2 separate regions of the Homo sapiens genome follow, and region 2 is linked to region 1. Evidence: promoter capture Hi-C in 16 types of primary human blood cells and fetal thymus (Javierre and others, 2016). All regions are on one chromosome and are shown on one strand. Each heading gives the region's core, a stretch centred on a gene start or on the middle of the fragment in contact. The rest is flanking DNA. Distances are from core to core; before and after follow the strand shown.

Region 1 (5,524 bases), core at 2,076-4,575:
TAAAGTAACGAGTCTGCAGACTAATATTTGGGGAACACTGATGTATTTCATCTACCTATAACTAATTTTAACTAGTTGCAACTCACTCTCCATGGGGAAACATTCGCCATGTTGGTAGGCTGTCCAGAAAAGGATCCAATATAAAATGTTATTGGGAAGAGTCTTAAGTACCTCAGAATTTATTGTCAGAGAATCAATACCTAGACCTCTATATGCTTTACTGAAACTCCAGGATGGTTGCCCTAGGTTTAAACTGAGTTCTGGGGGAATGATTTTCATTTAAAGGTCTCAAGCTTCATAACCATTTTGCCCAGATGAAAAAAGTTCAAAACAAGATGTAAAAATCCATGTATTGACCCTTCACTTAAAAAAAAAGTATATATATGTATTAAACCAAATGTACAGATTCTTTACAGTTGGTCCCAAAGTTCTAGAGTCTTTTTAAAAAGAAGGATTATTTTTTCTTCAGATTTTGCTTTGCTTGCTGTTACAGAGGCACTCCTGTCCAAAAGCTTCTGGTAACTTAAGTGACAAATGCAATGCAAATAAAGATAAGTAGATTAATACAAGAGCACACTCCCTGCAATTACTAATCAAAGAATACCAACTCAAGTGTAATGTTAGCTAGTCTCCTTAGCTGTTTCTCTCTTTTTATTTTTTTTTGAGCTTTTGCTTCAGATGATATGTAATACTTATGCATAAGCATATTTTCATAGTGCAAGTCAACACACTTTAACTAGTTCAATACTCATACTGATCTATTTTATTACATCTGAATAATCTTTTATTATGTGCAAAAATTGAATCACATAGTGGAAGCTGCATGCACATAAGTACGCAAAGTCCAGTAAACTGGTTGTGGTTTTTCTGATTAGATATTGATTTATTCTGAATATATAAAGTGCTGTAGGAAGATTTAAAGGCTGAGGGTGCACAAAATCATTTAAGATGATCAACAATTAGGTTTCTCTTTTTCTATAAGTGCATATACCAGAGCTATTTTAATATTAATAGTGGCTAAGGGTACTATTAGAGTTTTTCATAATGATATTACTCCAAATTATTTTATAAAGATGGGAAGTAATACTGGGAAATAATGATACACAATTGTTACTGAATATTTAATAAAGCACAAGTTAGTTATAAATAATACCACAAACTCTCTCTAAAAACCCCAAATAATTCCTCTATAAATCTTTCTATACTACTTGTTTTAACAAGTTCTATTTAAAATAACTTCTTCCTAAAAATGGAATTTGAGGACCGGGCGCGGTGGCTCATATCTGTAATCCCAGCACTTTGGGAGACTGAGGTGGGTGGATCACGAGGTCAGGAGATCGAGACCATCCTGGCTAACATGGTGAAACCCCATCTCTACTAAAAAATACGAAAAATAAGCCCAACGTGGTGGCACACACCTGTAGTCCCAGCTACTCGGGAGGCTTAGGCAGGAGAATTGCTTGAACTTGGGAGGCGGAGGTTGCAGTGAGCCGAGATCACACCACTGCACTCCAGCCTGGGCAAAGAGCGAGTCTCTGTCTCAAAAAAAAAAAAAAAATGGAATTTGAGTTCTCTAGATGAGTGTCAAACCAATGATTTAAAACATCACAAGGCCTGAGTAGAAAGAATGAATTGATTGGTACACATGGGAACAGGAGTTAGTACTTGTTAATTAGTCCTAGAGTTAGCGTTAGTACTTGTTAGTTAGTGTTAGTCCCAGAGTTAAGACAAAGAGCAACTTTAAAGTACAGAATCTTTCCCAAGAAGAGTAAATAAATCCTCATAGCATAAATCAAATTTAATGTTTGACAGTTCACCAGTTTTTATCATCTTTACAACAAACTCAGGTAGCTCTCTAGTAATTTGCCTACTCCATAAGGGGGCATTTATTTACCTCTTTACTATTAATTCTCAGATCAATAGAAGAGACATAAACTTTGAAGAAAAATTCATAATTATACTTCTGCCAGTTCCCTTCAGATTAATTTAGTGAACAGGTGGACAAATTCTCTGTGTCCCTGGAGAACAAGTGAAATATAATGAAAAAAACAGATCTGGGCAAGTACAGAAAACTAACGCCCAACTGAAGTTTTAAAACTTATATTGCAAAAGTGTATGGGTATTGAGAAGAGATGAAAGGTTGAAAAGTAATTTGAAATATGCTCAGGCCATTGCAATATACCCCATTATGATAGGGATTGAGTTATGCGCCATCATACATCTCTCCCATGTCAAGGACTTTTGAAAGGATATTAAGAGGTGACAAGCACATGAACTTAAAAAATATTTTTATAAAGACTGCCACCCATTTGTTTGGCTAATAAAAAGTCAGTAAGACTTCTGCTGAACACTCCGTTCTATGTCTAAATAGCCCATGCCAGGTTCCACTTCACAGGTGTCTCATTCAGCATGCCAGCTGCCAGAATGCCCAAGCTAAGTGTACAACTGCCCGGCACAGAAAGTGTGCATGTTTTTTACTGGGTCATGAAAGTTAGCCTTTGCTCTCATCACCACAGAGAAAAGTCAGAAGATAGCCTGTCTTAGTCAGGAAAAGAAAGTACAGCCTGTAGGAAGCAATTTGAGGGTGTTCCAGATCACACCAACAGCGGATGCTGCATCTGGGTAGTTCACGTACCCGAACAAAAATTTTAAAAATTTGGTGTGGCCTTTGCCATCCATTCACTCCTCAAAAACTACCATTTGCTTTCCCAGAAAGCAAGCTTTCCAGCCCCACAGCCACGCCCCCACGAGAGAAAAAGTCGCACTCACCAAATAGTGACAGGACCCCACACACCGTCCAGATGGTCAGAGACATGCCCACGCTGCCCGTGTTCTGGAGCACGCCCTTAGGAGAGATGAAGATTCCTGCTCCAATGATGGTGCCAATGATAATGGAGACTCCCCTCAGTAAAGTGACTTTCCTCTTCAGCTGCACTTTCTCCTGCCCAGGTGGCTCCTTGTTGCCCAGGGAAGGCAGCCTCCCGTTAACATTTCCCTGCAGGTAACCTCCTTTGGAGATGGTGGACACAACAGGCTTTCTGACCATAGTAGGGACACACGGGGGAAAAATAAAACAGAGGGAAAGAAAACAAAACTTTCAACTTTGGTGTCTCTTGGTGTTACTGATCGATGTCTTCCTCTGCTTTCAGACTGTCTCTCTCAGCGCTATAGTGTTCACAGGTGAAAACTCAAAGGTGTGCTTTTTCCTTCACAGCGATCTAATTACTACTCAGAAACACCTGTGTATGCATCGTGCTCTCAATTCTCCACCTCCTCGTTCCACCACTGCTGCTGCTGCTGCTGCTGCCGCCCTATCATTACAAACCAGCTCAGCTTCCTCATGGGCTTGTATTTAAGCGCCTGCCTGTCACACCAACTTACTACAGCTAAATGATGATGCAAATTCTCCAGGTTTGCATCAGCCACATGAGAAGCCTCCAGCATTACTCAGCTCTTTTTTTTAAAAAAAGAAAAAAACAGGAGGAGCTTGTTGCTCAACTGACCTAAGCTTTTTAGAGAACAAAGCACACACTTTAAAGAGATTTTAGCCAATCCAGAAGTAGTAAATTCGGAACAGACCTTCCCAGAGATTTAAAGCAACTCGTAGTGAGCAACAAAAGCTGTTCAAACAAAATGAAACAGGAAATAGTTACTTCATTTTAAGGAGTTTCTTTTTCTTTAATGCGTGTATAAAAACATTTTACATGCGACTGTTTTGTGAGTAGAATGTATCCTAAAGCTACATTGTTTATAACAACACAGTTTGAATTTCATAATTTGTGTAATGCTTTTTATTTTTTTATTTTGAGTTTTTTATAAGGCAATACAGTCAAATCCAATATTTACAAAATTAAAGATTCTACACTTTATACTTCTGTCACATACACACAACTATAAGCCTTCCTCAACATTAAAAGATAAAATTATTTCTTACTACTCATAATAAACCAGTATTTTAAATCACCATCCGAGTGTGACTAATACAAAATTCACCATGACTCCAGAAAATAGTCATTTTCTGATTCTCATTAGCACTAGGTGATTTTTTTGAACTATGTAAAAGATACATATCCTTCATTGTCATGTTGTTCCTTTGAATTACCAAAAAAAATTTCTAAGTTCAAAATTACACAATTACAATTACATAAAAATATGTATATAGCAAAAGCCTGTAAAGGAAAACAGAATGGTAGTTATAGAAAGTAATGATATTATGTATGACTTTTTTCCACATTATATAAACTATTGTTATTATTATAAATTTAAAATGCATTAAAAATGTAAGCTAAATTAAAATATTTACTTTGCAATAGTCAAAAAGGCAAAACATTTTTAAACCCTTCTAACTTTCTCAACCAAGTGTCAAGAAAAAACAAATATGAAAAGAAAAGAAATCCTAGATATCATTTTTGGCTATAGTTACATGTGGTTTTGGATTCAGTGAGAAGAATTGAATGTTATCATTACCCTGAAGCTACCTTTATACGCACCATTAAATAAGCTTCTGAACCTTTGAACAAAAACCACAAACAAAAAGCCTGTGTGCGAGAGGTTGGCAGGGAAAGAAGGGAGTCAAGTATGGTGAGGATGATCAAAGAAAGAAATGAGAAATCGCCATTAGGAAAGTAGCATGGAAAAGGTCAGAACCATTTTCTGTTATGTTGACACCTGAGAAAATGACACCACCTCAATGCTTTGCCATCCAAATAATTGAGGCTACATTTTCTCCTTTTTAAATTATCTATCTAAATTCTATATAATTGGTTTCAGCTACACCAAGTTAAAGTTTTTATAAAACCAAAATAAATACTTTTTCTCAGTTGTTAATGTCTTTCAAAAAACAAAAATGGATCATTTTCCTCATGCAATCCTGCTAAAACTCCCAAAGAAGGAAGCTAAATAGAGATTCTTTTCTTTCCAATTCTCTTCCTCCTCCTACATCTCCTTTCACTCACACAATTTTCCTGATTAATGGACCTAAGGAGCAGCTCTTCTTTCCCAGTAAGAGAAACATATTAGCTCTGAAGAAATATGAGGTAAAAGTAGGACACTAGGAATCTCAGGGAACAGCAACTTTCTCTAATTAACACAGTGTCACACTTTAATTTTAAATTTTGTTATAAATAACTGAACTCATAAGTTGAGCCAAAGACCCCACTCAGATAGGAAACTGAATGAATTATAAAGGACGATTATTCTTTCAATATTAAATAACATTTTCCTCCTCACAGTATTTTTTTTTTAATTATGAAGAAAAATGGCTGATGTTAGACTAAAAACCAAAAGGATTGTACTTTCATGTAAGATAGAGGCCACCACTCAGAATGTTTGCAAAGCTGCACATTGCTGCTAAGGGCACCAGTGTACCTCTTCTAAGCACCCCAAAATCTGTAGAAAATGCAGTTTATAAAGAAAATGTTGAATTGCCTTGAACTCTTAAAATTGCCAGTTCTAAGCTTGTAAACTAAGAGTTTGGATGGTCCTCAAATACTTGTGTATCATAAAAATGTGTTCAAAGCAAATG
Region 2 (6,116 bases), core at 1,299-3,798, 1.3 Mb after region 1:
GTGCTGAGGCTTTCTCACAGACTGGATTCTCCTCCTATGTTTTGGCAAAGTGCTTTGTTTCAGTTCAAATCTGAAGAGCATTTTTGAGTTGTTCTACTTTCCCACATCGACTGGCCCCAAATCTGCTTCCATCGCATTCTTTCCCACAGTTTTCTTCATTGAGAGCTGATTTCATAAACTCTCTTTCTACTTGGCTTTCCACCAGTTTCCCCTGTCGTACTCTGTCCCCACCAATGTGGTCATGGGCTAGAAAATCAATAAAACTCTTAATCACAAACAATGTGCAGCAGCAACAGCAGCAGCAGAAGTAGTGTGGCTCAGCTCCTAACTTGGCAGATCCCAGTGAGACAGAACAAGCTCTACCAGGGAGGAACGGGACCGCACAGGACATCCAACATCTAGGCTGGGTGAGACTTGCTTTCATGTTCACACTGAGAGTGACTTTTTTTTCCCTGTCTTTGGTCTTGAATCAGGAGGAGGGGTGACTTTTCTAAGCTGCTCTGGCTTAGTTTCCATTGCCTCCAAGGCTATATTCCTTCTCTTCATACCCAGCTTGGGAAACATAATTCCCTCTTCCATTGCAGCAAGCAGTCAAAATACTGAGTTAATTTTATTCATTCTACCACCCCTGTCTTTCCCTGGAGAAGGCTGGTGCTTACATACAAGACTGATATAACTTTTGCAATAAATATATTTTTACAAGCTTCTTGTATTTTATGCACCTTCCTACATTTAGGGGAAACAATTCTGTCAATTCGCTGCTATGCATGCTAAGCGAATTGTGAAACAAGTAGTGAATGTGGAACTTATGTGGGATTCACTACTGTTGGCTGTTACTGACTCCTCATCCTGCCCGCTGGCAGGGAGTGGAGGGGCCCAAGCAGTCTTCTGGGTCTCCATGTATTTGGGAGGGAGGAGCCTCTGAGACCTCAGCGGTAGGAAGTCGCATCAGAGCCTCTCCAGAAGCCCTGGTGGCTTTATGGTTGCTGGCCTGGCTCTGGTTTCCATCACTTGCTTACACCGCCAGCAGGATGACAAGGATAAAATTAGTGAAAGACCTTTTAAATAATCATCAAGTCTCGTTTTGGCACTGCTCACTCCTTCACAAGATTTTTTCCCACCAAATTAGCCAGTTTGATTGAGTTTTTGCTTTGTCTGTTTTGGTTCCACCAAGAACTAGCCAAGCAACTGGGCAATTCAGTTCTGCGGGGGCCGGGGGGGGGGCCTTCGTTTTCCCATCTGTAAATGAAGAGTTGGGCTACATAAATTCGAAGCTCAAACCTTCTCTGTCCACCTTTTCTGGAGAAAAGGTAAATAGAGCCTGAGAAGCCCCAGGAAAAGGCACATAAAAAGGAAATGGGAAGAAGCCAGGGCAACTCCAACAAACTGAATACTCAAGTCCTCTCACGTTAATGGCTCTATCTGGGCAGGCAGGTGAGGGGAGAACCTTTATCTTGACTCTAGGGAGGGAAGCATGGAAGTTTTAGGAGAACCAAGGTTCCTGGGTTCTGAATCACTGAGTCACTAATCAAGTGGCTAACTGTGTTAGTGACAACTGCAGAAGCTGGAGGGAGGGGCTGGGAGAGGAGCAGCGAGGAGGAGACGGGTGGGGGAGGAGATGGGGATGAAAGGGAAGCGTTTGCAGCTTGTGGAGCACTGGGAAGAGCAGGGACATCAAGGGCACCAAATAAAGGTCCAGGGAGCAAAGAAAGAAATGGAGAAAATTCATTCTGCTGGAAATAGACATGAGTGCAGTCAGGAAGAAGACTTACAGATTCAGGGTGACCTGATTTGATTACAGCAACAGGAAGTGCAAGAGAGAGAGGGCAGAATAACCTGACCTAAGGAAGTGAATTAAATAATAGAGAAGACACCACAGTTGCCATGGTATTAAAATACCTCATGCCACATTAAGCTTCCTCTTTCTCTTTTGCTTGATTCTTGTTTTTGCAACATGTTAATGTTGCAATGACATGTTAATGTCATTGCAGGGTATCCAGTAAACTAAATTTAGACTTTCTGGGGCGGGGAGGGGAGGGAAGATGCAGCCCAGATCTCCCTGTTTGGGTCGACTCTGGGCCAATATTGTTCCTTCACAGAGTTCTTGGGGTTTTTTGCATTATGGGATATGAAAACTCTTATGTCAGGCTTGGGCCTAGTGAAGCTGCTGAGTGAAATGATTGAAAAAAAAAAAATGAGGCCAGGCACGGTGGGTCACGCCTGTAATTCCAGCGCTTTGGGAGACAGAGGCAGGTGGATCACCTGAGGTCAGGAGTTCATGACCAGCCTGGCCAACATGGTGAAACCCTGTCTCTACTAAAAATACAAAAATTACAAAAATACAAAAACTGGTGGTGCATGCCTGTAGTCCCAGCTACTTGGGAGGCTGAGGAAGGAGAATCACTTGAACCTGGGAGGCGGAGGCTGCAATGAGCCGAGATGGCATCACTGCACTGCACTCCAGCCTGGGCCACGGAGTGAGACTCCATCTCAAAAAAACAAACAACAACAAAAAAAACCCTCACACACACACACACACACACAAAGAAAAATTGGAAATAGTTTTCAAAGGGGCATCTGTTTTAGAAATTACTTTAGAAAAACAATAGGATTGCAGAAACTTGAAAAATAAAGACAAACCGCCACCAAAACCAAATGTGTTTTCATAGATATTATTTTCTCTAATTGTTTTTGAAAAATTACTTTACTAGGCTAAAATTAAGATTATTGAGTCCTGCAATTGGTCCTCTGCAAAAGTAGACATTGCAGAGGGCAGGTACATGGTATACTCTTTTGACACTACAATATCCAGGATGGGCAGAGGAGTATTTCCAGCTGACCTATTTACCACAAATGTCATAACATTCATCAAGGGTCAGCTCTTGACCTTCCTCAAGTGGACTCACATTAACTAGACCCCGAGAGACTGAGATGTATGCCTGAATTATGATGGACAGATCAGAATACTCACACTGTCAGGGCAAAAGATCTCTCTATATAAATAAATGCACTTGAGAAGACAAATTCCATCCAAAAGTTTGCTTAGTTATCTGGAGTAGAATGAAGGACATTAGTTGTGTGGTCCACAAGACAAATACTCTGATACAGTGTTCTGAAAGAATGAGGCTGCCCACCCATCCCACTCACCTCTGCTTAGATGGGCCCTATGGCTTCTGAGGCTTCAAGCTTCTTTCTCCGTGCTCTAGTTTCTCCAAACCTGATTCTCCACACAGCGTCCTATACAGCCCATTAGGCAGATTTACACTTTCTAAGTCATAATGACATTCTCTATCTTCCTGGCATTACAGCCAAGTCACTTTAATGGGAATTTGAGGTAATCCTCAAACTTCTCAGTCACAAATTGAGTCACTCTCTTGGTTTATGCCCACTGAATTCTAGTCAAAACCATTGAGTGTGCAGATTTTGGTAGTCAAACTTTCTGAGAGCAACCTGGTTCTCAAGTTCTTGGGAAAGCACCTCATTTCTGCTTCACAAGCCATCAACAGTGGGCCAACCTTCTTAGGCTACCATGATTTCTGAGAAAGAGACCAGAGACATATTAAGACCCACGTGGCCTGTCCTGTGATACAGTCATCCAAGTTTTCCTGGGCACTCAGCTCAAAGATATTTCTATTCTGTGCAGGAGTGGAGAGGTTGGCTCTTTGCTATGATAGCTTAGGCAACGGAACGCCACCTTGAGGATGCAGATTCCATCTACTATAACATAGATGGAGGGCAAAGTGTCCTCTTCATTTTCCAAATGGGACTGTCTGGCTTTGAATCCAATATCCAGAAATGAAAATACCCATGTGGTCCTCTTCACTCAGTCACAAACAAAGACAGGTTGATTAGAGTGTTTCTGGGACCTGGCACTGAAATGACAACCCTCGATCTACAGGCAGCCCTCACCCGGAGGTGCTTGATGCTAAGCCAGCCCTTCCTGTATGTATTTGCTGGAGACCTGTCTTGCAGCCTCTTTGGATCTGGCGTGTCCTTTCAGGTCATTTAAGGTCTTATTGATCCTCCTTGCTGAGTCCATAGATCAATTCTTGGGAAAAGATGCTGTGGCCAACTTTTGGAATGTCTTTCAGACAAATTTAAAGAGCCCTGCTCAAATGCTCCTGTGCTCAAGATAGAGGACCAAAAAGAAAGCAGCCCTGTGGTAGGCCTTGTACTGTCTCCTTGGAGAAAAATGCCAGTTGAGAGTAGGTCTTCTGAAGTTATAAGCATCACTTCCCAACCTGGCATCTGGGGAATGTCTTAAGTCTGAGATAGTGTGAGTTCTTCAGCAGAGCAGGGAGCCTGGTTATTACTCAGCTGTAAAGTCTTGGCACCTCGACCTCACCTGTGTCCCCTGTTCTGTGCTCTCCCCCAAGATGGTGTGGCAAAGGTTGTGATTTGAACCAGGTCAGGTTCATTCTCAGTTGTAGACAAGATAAGAGAGAGGGGCAAGTCAGTGATCTCTCCCTTCTCGCCAATCCTATAGAATTTGGAGTATCTGCAACTAACTTTCCTTAATATTTCAAAATAATCCTTCTGAAAATGTGCATTGAGAATTGTGGAATTGGTTATATCCAAGCAGAGTCATCTTGTTTATAGGCTCATTTTCATCTAAGGGGCTATTTTTATTGCTGACATATACCTTTCAAGTATTTGGAAAGGTTTATCGTGAATGGAATGTATCCTGAATGGAATGTAATTTGGCATCTCTGAGCTCATTTGCACCACACAATAATTCATCCCCAAGACCAGAGATGTTTAAGGACTCTCCCAGGATCCCACAACTGAAATGTGGCCAAATGAGGCTCAAATCAAGGCCCATTGGGTCTTCAGCCATACTTCACACTTCATGCAGAGTGACAAGACTCCTCAGAGGGTGGGCATCGGAGGGCAGGGGTGAAGCAACAAGAGATGGCATTTAGAGACAGTCTGCTGTTTCCCAGGAGACTGAGTCACATCATTTCATTTCATCCTGAAAATGACCTTACAGAATATGATCTCCATTTATAGATGAGGAAACCCGAGACTGTGAGTTCAAATAACTTGTCTGGAGTCACATAAGTAGTGAGAGTGGGATTGGAACCACAGCTGTGCAAACCATGAAAAGGCACAGATAGAGGAAATGGAAGTAACAGGACAGTTTTGGAGAAATAATTCTAGATTATTGAGTAAAGGAAAAGTTCTTAAAGAAGCTCTACATCAGTTTTATGGTGCCATACAAGATGGACTTATGGAGTGTGTTAATCTGTTCTCACATTGCTGTAAAGAAATACCTGAGACCAGGTAATTTAGAAAGAAAAGAGATTTAATTGGATCATGGCTCTGCAGGCTACACAGTAAGAATGATGGCATCTGCTCAGCTTCTGGGGAGGCCTCAGCAAACTTACAATCATGGCAGAAGGTGAAGGGGGAGCAGGCAGTCACATGGACAGAGCAGGAGCAAGAGAGAGAGGCAGAAGGTGCTACACACTTAAACGACCACATCTCTTGAAAACTCACTCACTATCATGAGGACAGCACCAGAATGATGGTGCTAAACCATTCATGAGAAATCCACCCCCATGATCCAACCACCTCCCACCAGGCCCCACCTCCAATATGGGGGATTACATTTCAACATGAGATTTGGGAGGGGACAACATCCAAACTGCATCACAGGGGAAATGACAAAATCACAAAAGCGTATACATGGCTGGCCTCTAGTGGCAGAGGAGAGCTTTGGTCTTGTCTCTGGGGGTATGCTTTTGTGAAGGTGTCCCAAGTGACCCCCATCCCTTATTTGAGATGATATACTTCTTGGGTTCAAGTTGTTCAGTTTGTTTTTCTGGTTCTGGTGGCTGAGTGGAGGGCAGAGATTCTCTCTGCAGCAGATGTGCCATCCTTTACAGTGCCTAGCATGCTGCTGGACGTACAGGTGTCCAGGAGGTTTGGCAAGCATATTGCCAGGAAAAACTTCTACCATTGAGGGCCCAGTGCAAACAAGCTCACTATGAGCAGGCTGGCTGGCCATGGATAAGGAGGACCATCTTAGGAGCAAGTTACAGCTGACAGATGACTTTTGAGCTGTGGAAATGGAAGACAGAAAAATGCTTTTTGAAGAACTTCATTAATTTTTA

What was found. The method cuts DNA at HindIII sites, captures the fragments that hold promoters and counts their contacts. A CHiCAGO score of 5 or more calls a contact.
Region 2: a contact is called between a fragment that was not itself captured here and the fragment with the promoter of SLC7A11 in region 1, in 1 of 17 cell types (monocytes). The highest score is 7.4, in monocytes.

Annotation. Positions count from the first base shown.
Region 1 is chr4:138,239,024-138,244,547 of GRCh38, forward strand. SLC7A11 (solute carrier family 7 member 11) reads right to left here and starts at 3,326. Exons shown (of 12, transcript NM_014331.4): 1 at 2,770-3,326. The coding sequence starts at 3,046. RefSeq lists enhancers at 2,672-3,871, 3,341-3,580. The HindIII fragment of the contact is 788 bases long and covers 2,719-3,506 here.
Region 2 is chr4:139,559,011-139,565,126 of GRCh38, forward strand. No RefSeq gene overlaps it. Among named protein-coding and RNA genes, the nearest start is that of SETD7, 5.8 kb to the left of the region's middle. The HindIII fragment of the contact is 1,271 bases long and covers 1,914-3,184 here.